2 separate regions of the Homo sapiens genome follow, and region 2 is linked to region 1. The links are contacts of gene promoters, found by promoter capture Hi-C in blood cells and fetal thymus (Javierre and others, 2016). All regions are on one chromosome and are shown on one strand. The core of a region is centred on a gene start or on the middle of the fragment in contact, and the rest is flanking DNA. Distances in the headings are between cores, read along the strand shown. Region 1 holds the start of BCL2L2-PABPN1 (BCL2L2-PABPN1 readthrough). Region 2 holds the start of PSME2 (proteasome activator subunit 2).

Region 1 (5,675 bases), core at 2,485-4,984:
AGAAGAGGGCAACCTTGCTGGTGGCAGCCAGAATGATCAGGCTAAGAGCAAAAATGAAATGAGGATGGTTGAAAGGATACAGCCATAAAGGAGTGTAATAGGCTGTGTGTTTAGAATAGAGGAGAGAATTGAGTATGGACTTGTAAATGGTGTGGATTCAGACTATGAGAACCATATTGACTATGTGAAGGCAAGAGGTGATCTTGAAGCGATAGTGTCAAAGTTACAGCATGAGATGGCTGTGCTAGCTTCTTACATATCAGCCTATGGCTTTGGGAAAATCACTTAACCTCTCCAAACCTCAATTTCCTCATTCATAGAATGAGGATAAAACAGCATAAGGACTGGTGAGAGGAAAAAATACACATGTAAAAAAAGCACAGCATCTAATAACTCCTCAAAATATGTTAGTTTTTACCTTTTTTTTTTTTTGAGATAGAGTCTCGTTCTATCACCCAGTCTGGAGTGCAGTGGCATGATCTCAGCCTCCTGGGTTCAAGTGATTCTCATGCCTCAGCCTCCTGAGCAGCTGGGATTACAGGCTGGCTAATTTTTGTATTTTACGTCTGGCTAATTTTTGTATTTTTAGTAGAGATGGGGTTTTGCCATGTTGGTCAGGCTGGTCTCGAACTCCTGGCCTCAAGTGATCCACCCGCCTTGGCCTCCCAAAGTGTTGGGATTACAGGTATGAGCCACCGAACCCAGCTAGTTGTTACTGTTATTGCTGCAGAAAAGACCTTGCTTCTCCAGTGACCATAAGGGAAGATGGTAATACAGAGGCTTGGATTGGAGGTAGAAGCAAAGGGAGCTAGCAGAATAGGAGAATTAGGTTGCCTCTTTCTGGCCTTTGGTTGGGGCACTCTTTAAAAAAGTGCCAGATCCAAGAGCCCAGGGGGCTGGCTGTGAGTGCCCTCATGTGGATCAGCTATGGTCAGACTGCTTCACGCCTGTGACCTGCCCTGTATAAATATACTGCCATGTATAAATAATGGCCCCATATATATGTAATCTGGAAGGATAAACATCAAGCTTAACACTGGCAACCTGCAGGGAGGGAAGTGGAATTGGGTGTGTATGTGTGTGTGTGTTTGAGAACCTGTATTTTATTACTCCGCACGTCTTTATTGTTTGATTTTTTTCATAATGAGAATGAGTTTGTGTGTTGGGTAAAAAAAAGAAAAAGAAAAAAACCCCACTAAAATCAATCTAATTACAAAAGAAGATGAATTAAAGAAAAGTACCGAGAGAAACTGCTTGTGATCCAAGTCCTGGCTCCCTAATGCCTGGCTGAAGCCCAGCCCACAAAGAGAACACTGGGTTAAAGGTCCTGGAGAAAAGATGGGAAAGGTTTGGTGTCTATGTGGTGTCTGCTAGCCCCATAAGGGTAAGGCACCTGGTAGACGGTTCCCAGCTTAATGGGAACTGCTCCTGTTTTCCAGGCACACAGTTCAGGGCTGGAAAAGTTCAACAAGTGCATGGAACATCGGAAACCTCCTGAAAATGCTAAATTTGCCCCGAGATGTCCCGAAGTCCGGCATATTTCTCTGGGCAGCCTAGAGGCTCAGGAGCCCAGCCCAGCCCAGCCCACCGTGCCCTCTCAGCCAGCCCTTCTTTGCCTTCAGCAGCCCTCCCTCTTCCTGAGTAGTGGCCCTTTGCAGGCCTGCGTCCCAGCCCCGCCCCTCTCTCTGGACGCATCTCTGGGCCCCATCATCACCCGGCGCCGGGCCCTCCCTCTGCCCCCCCCTTTCTCCTCCCTCCTTCCTTCCCTCCCTTCCTCCCTCTCTCCCTCCCTCCCAGCTCCTGCACCAGGAAACGGCCCGGATCCCGGCAGCGGCCTGACCCGTGAGATCCCTAACCTGGCAGGCGGGCGGGGTTGGAGACTGGCTGAGGTGGGGGTAAGGGAGGAGCTGGGCCTTTGGGCTGCACTAGGGGGAACCGGGAATAGAGATGGTGTCGGCAGGAAGCCCTTGGCCTTGGGTTTCCCGGGAGGACAGTCATTAAACATGGATTCGGCCACACAGCTGGTAGAGCGTTGGGGGCAGGGGCCTAGGCCCAGAGCTGCAACCCTAGCCCTTCCCAGGCCAGAACCTGATCCCTGGCCTTCCCCTCCTGGTTCTGATCTCCCCCTCCCCTTTCCAGGGCTCCACGCTGGCCAGGAGGATGAAAGGCCCCAGCTGGGGGCTCCTTGCCACCAGTGCTGTGTCTTAAGAGCTGCCATCCCGGCTGGGTGAGTGTCTCCTTCCTTTCTCTGTCTGGAGTAACCCATTGCGTCTCCCACCTTTCTCTTCAGCCCATCTGCTCCCCCTCATCTTGTGTCTCTGCCAACATCTTTACATCTTGCATTTGGGGAGGTCCTAAGACCCTTCCTCTAGCCAAGAAGGTGTGGACTAAGGAGACCCGGGGGTGGGGGTGTTGTAGGGGTGTCATTGAGCTGACGTTGTCTTATTGTGAAAAGAATCTAAAGTATCCTAAACAGAAAATTTACTTGTTTTACATTTAATTTGGCATATTAGGAATGTAATGGCCAGCCACTCACAGCCTAGTCTCATATCATGACTTAATTCCCTTGTTCTTGCCTCTCCCTGTCCAGTGAGTCCTGAGCATTTCCTCTCTCCTCCTCATCTCACTGGGTTGGTCAAACCAGAAGTGCTCCTTCTGATTCTCTCTTCATATATTCATGCCAGTCTTTCATCCTTGCCTCTTATAGCCGCCCGGATGGCGACCCCAGCCTCGGCCCCAGACACACGGGCTCTGGTGGCAGACTTTGTAGGTTATAAGCTGAGGCAGAAGGGTTATGTCTGTGGAGCTGGCCCCGGGGAGGGCCCAGCAGCTGACCCGCTGCACCAAGCCATGCGGGCAGCTGGAGATGAGTTCGAGACCCGCTTCCGGCGCACCTTCTCTGATCTGGCGGCTCAGCTGCATGTGACCCCAGGCTCAGCCCAACAACGCTTCACCCAGGTCTCCGATGAACTTTTTCAAGGGGGCCCCAACTGGGGCCGCCTTGTAGCCTTCTTTGTCTTTGGGGCTGCACTGTGTGCTGAGAGTGTCAACAAGGAGATGGAACCACTGGTGGGACAAGTGCAGGAGTGGATGGTGGCCTACCTGGAGACGCAGCTGGCTGACTGGATCCACAGCAGTGGGGGCTGGGTAAGAAGCTTCTCAATTGCCGCTCTGCACATCCTTCTGCAAAGCTGGTCTCCAGGGGGAAGATGGGGGCTCTGATTGGAGGCTGAGGCAGCTATGTTGGGAATGAGGTACGGGGCTGAGTCTCCCCGTCTGGATGGAATTAGATTGAGAGATGCCTGGACTCTGCACTCCAGGGCTGCCATGCAGTCAACACTGGATGGGCTCATGGTCCCAAGCAGAGGACAGAATACACACCCAAGGAGTGCCTGCAGGGGAATGTTGTCAGGGACTTTTTACATCTGAGTCATGGCGTGGGAGGTGGGGAGGACCAGGGATGGGTGGTGGTCAGGCAAGCCTTGGCAAAGGATGCTAGTTCTGAGCAGAATTTTTCGCCAAGGAAAGGATGGAATTCACTGGAGGCAGAGTGGGCAGATGAACCAGTCTCTCAGGGTGGGGGTGCACCTGGGGGGATCAGAGGGGCTTGCAGGGAGAAGAGCTTTGGCCAGAGAGGAGCTGGGTATGGGGTAGTGCTCGCAGTGGATGGAACTGGAACTCTTCCTCTCCTCTTCTCTCCACTCTTTCCTCTCCTGATATCCCTTTCTCCTTCTTTCTCTCCTGCTTCCCTTCTCTCCCACAGGCGGAGTTCACAGCTCTATACGGGGACGGGGCCCTGGAGGAGGCGCGGCGTCTGCGGGAGGGGAACTGGGCATCAGTGAGGACAGTGCTGACGGGGGCCGTGGCACTGGGGGCCCTGGTAACTGTAGGGGCCTTTTTTGCTAGCAAGTGAAAGTCCAGGGCCAGGTGGGGCTAGGTGTGGCTGGGGGCCAGGAGAGCAGGAACAGAACAGAGAAATGCCCTTGGAAGAAGTGGAGTTGGTGGATGGGTGGGCATGGAACAGGATGGGCAGAGAAAGGGTAGTGTGTGAGGGAGCTGAGTAGGCCAGGTAGGCGATTGGAAGAGTGAGCAGGACACAGAGGGGAGGGGAATGTTTTGGCAAGTTTAGGGGCACAGGAGATGTAGTCGTTCCAGGGCTGGGGGAGGTGGGAGGGATCACGCCTATAGGTGTGGGCACATGAAACGACCTGGAACTTGCTTCACAGCCCTGAGGAAGGTGGACTTACATAAGCAGCTGTATTCCATTAGATGAGTGGGATTTAGGGAACGCAGAAGGCACATCCCTTTGGAATGGAAGCTTAGGGGTTCTCAGGTGATAGGGAGAGGTGGCTGTTAACAGTGGGCTGCTTGGACACGCGTGTGCATGTGCACGCATGCTGGTGTGCATGCTGGGCTGCCTGGCAAATCTGGTGGTGATGGGATTCCTCAAGGAGAAAACATTCCCTCTTGCAATGGCAAGAACTAGGGGCAGTTCTCTGTCCCTCCTCCCAACCCCTCCTTTCCCCTGCCCTTGTCCTGATGCCTCAAGGCTTAGAGAGAAACATTGTATCCAGACCGAGGGCTCTGCTGCTTCTTTCCAGAAAGTGATTGGCAAGGCTTTGGAGAGAAGAGCAGTTCTGCAGCTGGCCTTGTTCCTTCATCATCCCCCTTCCTTGTGCATTATGCACTTGCTGCTGCCTCCTGGGCTCTGATAGAAGGGCAGGGCTGTTGAGCCTGGATGGGTGGAGGCTTAGGTAGCCGGACCTGCCTGCCACCCTCCTCTCCCACTCAGGCACAATGGTGCCTAAAGTGTTTCCAATCTCTGGGACCTCTGTACCCAAACTGAAACTCTAAATTGGGGCCCTAACTAATTTTCCTTTTGAGGTTGTGGGCATAAGTGCTGATCTAGAATACAGTCTGGGTCCCACACTGTGTCTCAGTGAGACTGTTGATGCCTTGAGATGACCATTTCAGATCTGAATCCCATGGGTGTGAGGGTGATGGGTACTCCAGGACTGGCCTATGCTGTGTTGTGGGCTTTGGTTCGGCTTTATCAGGGGCCAGGCATATGGGTTCTAGAGTACCTACCATGACCTAGAAGCATTTATGATTTATTTGAAGCCACACTGTTTGCATGGGTGTTACTTGTCTGTACCTCAGAGTCTGAGGATGTTAACTTTGGAACTCGCAGTCCTCTAGAACAGCTTCAGATTATGGCTTTTTCTTTTGAGGAAGAAATTATTCACTCCAGATGCATGCCCTGAGCCAGACCTCACTGCTGCACTTTCCAAGGTGCTAAGATTGCTGCTCTCCAATGCTAACTTTCTGACACAGTGCTCTAGAACCCTGCCTGTGGTCCTGAGCACTGATCACCTTAGCTAGACCATGGTTGACTCTTCTTGGAGATTTTCACTTGGTCCTAGAATGTGGCAACGTAGTTGTGCTCGCCAGAACGTGGGACCAAATTGGCCTCAGGTGTTGAGTCCAGACTTCTGCTTTTGAGAGAGGGCTGCACTTTTTCATGGTATTTCTAGGGGAGGTGGTAGGCTGCATGTGCCACTTGGTCTTGTTGTGAGTATGCTGACACCAGAAACTCAGAGCCAGCTTGTGGCAAGCAGTTGGGGTGGGGGGTCTCTGACTTGCTCAGGACAAACTAGGCCAGTGGTTTTCAAACT
Region 2 (5,325 bases), core at 2,825-5,324, 840 kb after region 1:
TTAAAAATACAAAAAAATTAGCCAGGTGTGGTGGCACATGCCTGTAATTCCAGCTACTCGGGAGGCTGAGGCAGGAGAATTGCTTGAACCCGGGAGACGGAGGTAGCAGTAAGCTGAGATCGTGCCATTGCACTCCAGCCTGGGCAACAGAGCAAGACTCCATCTCAAAAAAAAAAAAAAAAGGGTGGGGGGAGTCCAATCATTCATCCGTAGTTCTCCATAGTTCTCCCAGTGAAACCTTATTCTCCTTCTAGGCTTTTCCTGAACTGATGAGGATTCTTTCTTTCTTCATTCCTGATGTTGACCACAGAACTTTCCCCTTGTGTATCCAAAGCCTGATTATTCCCATAAGGGCTCTGTGCAAATGCCATCTCTTCCAATAATTCCTGAGACCTCTGGATGAAAATAATACTGTTACATTCCAAAATACAGGTTATCTGCATGGCTGCCATGGCATGTAACAATCCCCACCCTAGGCACTCAGGGTGAAGGACTTGGACTATAAACCCAATGGAGAAGATAGCCCTTCAACCTCTGTGACTTTTCTAAAGCTACTTTCCCCCCTTTTTGCCTTAGATGGAAACAGATAAGCAGGAGAAGAAAGAAGGTAAGTGAGATAAGAGGTGACTAGGGAAGGGGAGATGGCACATTGACTACTGGATGAGAAAGGGCCTGAATCCCCTCTTTCTCACAGTCAAGATTACAGTGGGCATCTAAGTCATCTTTGTCTTTGTGACACCCACCCCTTCCCACCACATTCATCTTCAGGCTGGACATAGGTGCCACTCAATAAATGCTTTTTGAATGAATGACACACGCCAGAAGGGAATCCACACAACATATAGATCATTTATTTTCCTTCTAGTCCCGGGTTCAGTACATAGATGGCTTTTCTTCACCCTTTGGGTTGACAATTTTCTCCAGGTTGCTGCTGATGATATGATAAAGCTCAGCCTGGGAGAAGGCCAGAGTGCAAGAGTCAGGTTCTTAGCCAATCCCCTGCCTGCCCCCACTCATCCACCTCCCCTAAAGCCTTACTCCACACTCACATAGAAGGCCCTCAGGTCCAGCACCATGGCCCTGAGCTCCCCATAGGCTGCCTCATCTCGCTCATGCACCAAGGCCCGGTAATCCATCTGCAATGTGGGAGGCAAAGCTGAGTCAGTCCCATGGGAGGCTGGGACATGAGTCTGGTTTCCTTTTATAGGAAATAGGTTAACTTGAGAATGAACCCCTTCTTAGCACCAAGAAATAGGATCCCAAAGGACTGAGCAGAGAAAAGGGTCAAGGTTGTTGAAGCCCAAACCAGTTTTTCTAGGTAATGCTTTTAGCTTAATATTCTCCACATTGGGAAAGTCACAAACAAGACAAGGAGGACTTCTTCCTCCACACCTCCTCGTCCCACACCCAGCTAAAAGGCTGGTGGACTATCCACTCACTACATGAGTCTCCTTGGAGGCCTTGGCCACAGCATCCCCACGTTCTGAGAAGTACCTGCCAGAAGCAAGGGAATACCACAGGAATGAGTGTTCAGGGAGATGTACTCCCTCAGACCCTTCCCAAAGTCTCCCATCATCCTGATAGGGCTGCCCAGCTCTGGGGGTCCCAAAGAAATGCTCCTACTGCCCCCAATGCTGGTCCTCCAGCTGCCCTCACTTGGAAATGGTTGTCTGGAAAGCTTCCACTTTGGTCTTGACGGCATTCACCCTCTCCAGCACCTTCTCCTGTGGTGACACGGGAGGCAAAGACAACACTTCATGTCCTCCCCATTTCATACACTATCTTCCTCCTCCTCCTGGTTCATGTCTAGCTCACCCCCTGAGGCTCTCCCCACTCTAAGTATCTTCAGTTACCCTTTTCTTACCTGGATTGCTACCCCAAAATCATTTCCATCTTCAATCTTGGGGATCAGGTGTTGGATCCATGTAATCACCTGTGTTAAGAGGTATCATGTAAGAATCATTCAACAAACATACTGAGTTCTTCCTATTACTGTCACTTCCTAAAAAAAGTTATATTTAATTGGGTACTTATTACATACCAGGTACTGTGCCATGTATTTATTTCATGTAATCATCACAGCAACCTTCAGAGATATGTATTTATTGTACCCATTTAACAGATGAAAAAACTGAGTCACAGAATGTCTAAGTGACTTACTTAAGGCTACCAGCTAGGTAACTGATAGAATCACGATTTGAACCTAAGCAGTCTCTCTCTAGGGTCCAATCTTTTAAAACAATTCACTCACTATATCATACCACCTCTACTATGAACCCAATACAGCAGTAGGTTCTGAGGTTACAGAGTGGATACTGCACAGTCTCTAATTTTGGGGGTACCGTTGTGATAAGAGAGGTCTAACAGAACGAGGAGAACAAAGGGGATCTAAGCCCAAGGCACAGAAGGAAGTTTTCTTTTTCAGGACTAGGTCTCTGTATGAAGGACTTGTATCTACGGAGGAGTCCAGGGCCTCACCTTGTGTGTCTTCTCTTTCTGCTTCCCCCATTTCCCAGGCTTACCAGAATGCATTTCTCTTTGAGAGTCCAGACTTCTGGCTTAACCAGGGCAAGCAGGGACAGGACTTTCTCATTCCCAGGGAGAAATCCACACTTATGGACTGTGAGAAAGAGGGGATTCAGGCCCTTTCTCATCCAGTAGTCAGTGTGCCATCACCCCTTCCCTAGTCACCTCTTATCTCTCTTACCTTCTTTCTTCTCCTGCTTATCTGTTTCCATCTAAGGCAAAAAGGGGGGAAAGTAGCTTTAGAAAAGTCACAGAGGTTGAAGGGCTATCTTCTCCATTGGGTTTATAGTCCAAGTCCTGCACCCTGAGTGCCTCACCTCATCATCCTTGGGTGGAGGGTCTGGGATGGGGATGTCCAGTGGGGCCCGGAGGGAAGTCAAGTCAGCCACATTGAGGGAGTCCTCCTGCACAGAGCTCACTGTCAAGGGCTGCCCAACCTCTTCCCTTCATCCTAGGTCACAGCCTTCCCTCCATACATCCCACTTGCACTCTGCCTCCCAACCTAGGCTCATGCCTCACGCCATCCTAATGTTCCTAATCCACTATTTGAAACTATTCTCTGCATGCTGAATCCAGTTGTTAGCTAGAGAGGGTGGGCAAAGGGGATAGAGGACATAGGATGGGGCAGAAGGGGCCCACACTACTCACTTGCAAGAGCTGATTCAGGTATATGATTTTCTGTGGCAAGAATCTGTAGAGGAATTCCTCAGCCTGTGGGTTACATTGCAAGGGAGGGGAATCACAGAATATGCTCAATGAGATGTCTGACAAATGGAACTGGAAGGGCCTTTGGAAATCACTGGGTCCAAGACTTGCAAATGAGGAAACTGAAGACCTGAAAATGAAAGGACTTGCCCAAGCTGGTAAATGGCAGAACGAAGGTTAGGACTGTGATATTCCTGCTTTGGAAGCCATGGTTTTTTTCCTCCACATCAAAAGACGGGAGAAGTGCCAGAAGTCGGGAGAGTCATAAGAAAGGTCAGATTAAAGGTAGCTATCAATAATTCCGGGGTTACTTTGGGTGAAGGCTTGGTAAGGGAAGTAGGGTTAAGTCTAGGGTGACTTGGGGGGGTCATTCTGAGAGGCTGTTATCCTCAAGTATTGGTCCAAGATTCTGGGTCAAATCGCTCAAATCCAGAGACTTACCTCCTGGAAAAGATTCTGTCTGAAGACCTCCACCTACACAGAGAGCAGTACCCGGATGTTGGTTAAGGGTCTGGGTTGTCAAAAGCTTCCACCCACAACAGGGTGCCCTCGAACTGTGGCTCAGGCCTTTCTCACCACAAACTAGCTTTCCCTGGAAGCTCCTGCTCACTGCAGTCAGAAGGCAGGAATCTGGGAATCCCCGAGAAGTGAAGGCACTAGCGAGATTGGGGGAGTTCTCTGGCACTGCTTGGTCCCCTGAACCACCCAGCTTGGCCTCCACCCAAGAGGGTTCTATGACCCCTTCCTGGCCTCCGATTCCCCATTACCTGTTTGCGGGCTTCCCCGCTCAGGCGCACCCCACACGGCTTGGCCATGCTGCTTCAGTCGCTAGATCTCTGGTCTCCCGGCTAGTCGCCCGGGCTTTCGCTTTCACTCCCCAGGTCCAGGCCCGCCCCCCTCAACCCCGCCCCCTTTCTTCTTTCCGCCCCCCTCCTCCCGCTGGCAGGCCGCAAGCAGTAGGTAGCCCCTCAGCCATTCCCAGCCAGTTGCCACTAGGAGAGGCGGTGCTGGCTGGGTCACAGTCCAGGGGCTGCCCGAGGGAGGGGCTAGGGTAAGTGGGACCGCGGAGACTGGAGCGGGGGCTGTCCCTCGGAGAGGGGCGGGGCTTATAGCTAGGGCCAACTGGAAGTCCAGGGTTGGGGTAAGAGAGGTGGGAGTATGGCAAAGGGGGTATTCAGTGGCGGGGCTCCCCCAAGAAGGCTCGACCGCAAGTAGCGGACGGAGAGAGATCAGAGCGAGTGGGAGGGGCAGCCAGAGGGAGCGCCTGGGGTGGAGAAGGACTAGCAGCTCTTAGAAGAGAGCGGGCAGGGGTTGGGTGAGGGTCTTCCCTCTGCCTTCAGGACAGACCGGAGATGGGGCGGGACTCGCTCGAGAGGGGTTAGGGCCGGCCAGAGTCGGTTCCCCTGCAGGGTGGGACTTCCTCGGTGAGGCCCGGAGCGTACCGGACTGGTCCAGCTAGAAAAAGAAAGGTTTTGAGCTGAATAGGATAACCCCGCGCCTGCGGCTATCCGGAAGGGGTGGAACCAGATTGGGGGAAGGCGGGGAAGAGCGCTTGACTGAGGGAAGATGCTGGCGCGCTCTGAGGGAGGAGCCAGGAGCCATTTGCCTTCTCATTGGTTGGGACCTGGCCCTCCCTCTTGGCCGCGCCCCCTGGTTTCCTGACACCGCTCCAACCTTAACCTTAAGCCCCGCCCGTTCCTCCGAAATTGGGTCGCAGTCCCACCCTCTCTCCTAGTACTTCCTGTTCTCGGCTAACCCTGGCGCTGGGCCGGGGGCTGGAGAGTGACCGTGGTCTGAGTGACCTGGGGCGGCTGCGTGGGCCGGGGTGGGCCTCAAAGCCGGGCACCAGACGGGAGGGGCGGCGCTCGGGCCGCGCGCTGCCCGCGCCGGGTCCTGGCGGGCGGCGAGGCTGGGGCTGACTCCTGCCTCAGGATGCCGGGGGAGGAAGAGGAGCGGGCCTTCCTGGTGGCCCGCGAGGAGCTGGCGAGCGCCCTGAGGAGGGATTCCGGGCAGGCGTTTTCCCTGGAGCAGCTCCGGCCGCTACTAGCCAGCTCTCTGCCGCTAGCCGCCCGCTACCTGCAGCTGGACGCCGCA

The links. Contacts are between HindIII fragments. The CHiCAGO score rates a contact against its expected background, and 5 or more counts as called.
Region 2: the fragment with the promoter of PSME2 here is called in contact with a fragment that was not itself captured in region 1 in 1 of 17 cell types (erythroblasts); the score reaches 7.3 in erythroblasts.

The regions. Positions count from the first base shown.
Region 1 is chr14:23,305,053-23,310,727 of GRCh38, forward strand. BCL2L2-PABPN1 (BCL2L2-PABPN1 readthrough) reads left to right here and starts at 1,781. Exons shown (of 8, transcript NM_001387346.1): 1 at 1,781-1,842; 2 at 2,140-2,227; 3 at 2,708-3,147. The coding sequence starts at 2,716. It overlaps BCL2L2 (BCL2 like 2), which reads left to right and starts at 1,781. Exons shown (of 4, transcript NM_004050.5): 1 at 1,781-1,842; 2 at 2,140-2,227; 3 at 2,708-3,147; 4 at 3,764-5,675. The coding sequence starts at 2,716. The coding sequence ends at 3,913. RefSeq lists an enhancer at 2,640-3,473. The HindIII fragment of the contact is 1,163 bases long and covers 3,154-4,316 here.
Region 2 is chr14:24,142,536-24,147,860 of GRCh38, forward strand. PSME2 (proteasome activator subunit 2) reads right to left here and starts at 4,075. Exons shown (of 11, transcript NM_002818.3): 1 at 3,999-4,075; 2 at 3,673-3,705; 3 at 3,175-3,237; 4 at 2,844-2,930; 5 at 2,708-2,738; 6 at 2,523-2,620; 7 at 1,865-1,933; 8 at 1,657-1,724; 9 at 1,440-1,494; 10 at 1,050-1,136; 11 at 830-954. The coding sequence starts at 4,046. The coding sequence ends at 874. RNF31 (ring finger protein 31) reads left to right here and starts at 4,963. Exons shown (of 21, transcript NM_017999.5): 1 at 4,963-5,325. The coding sequence starts at 5,164. MIR7703 (microRNA 7703) reads right to left here and starts at 1,030; the gene lies at 954-1,030. RefSeq lists silencers at 4,121-4,180, 4,881-4,970, 5,001-5,230 and enhancers at 4,491-4,560, 4,698-5,198, 4,745-5,039. The HindIII fragment of the contact is 5,988 bases long and covers 3,756-5,325 here.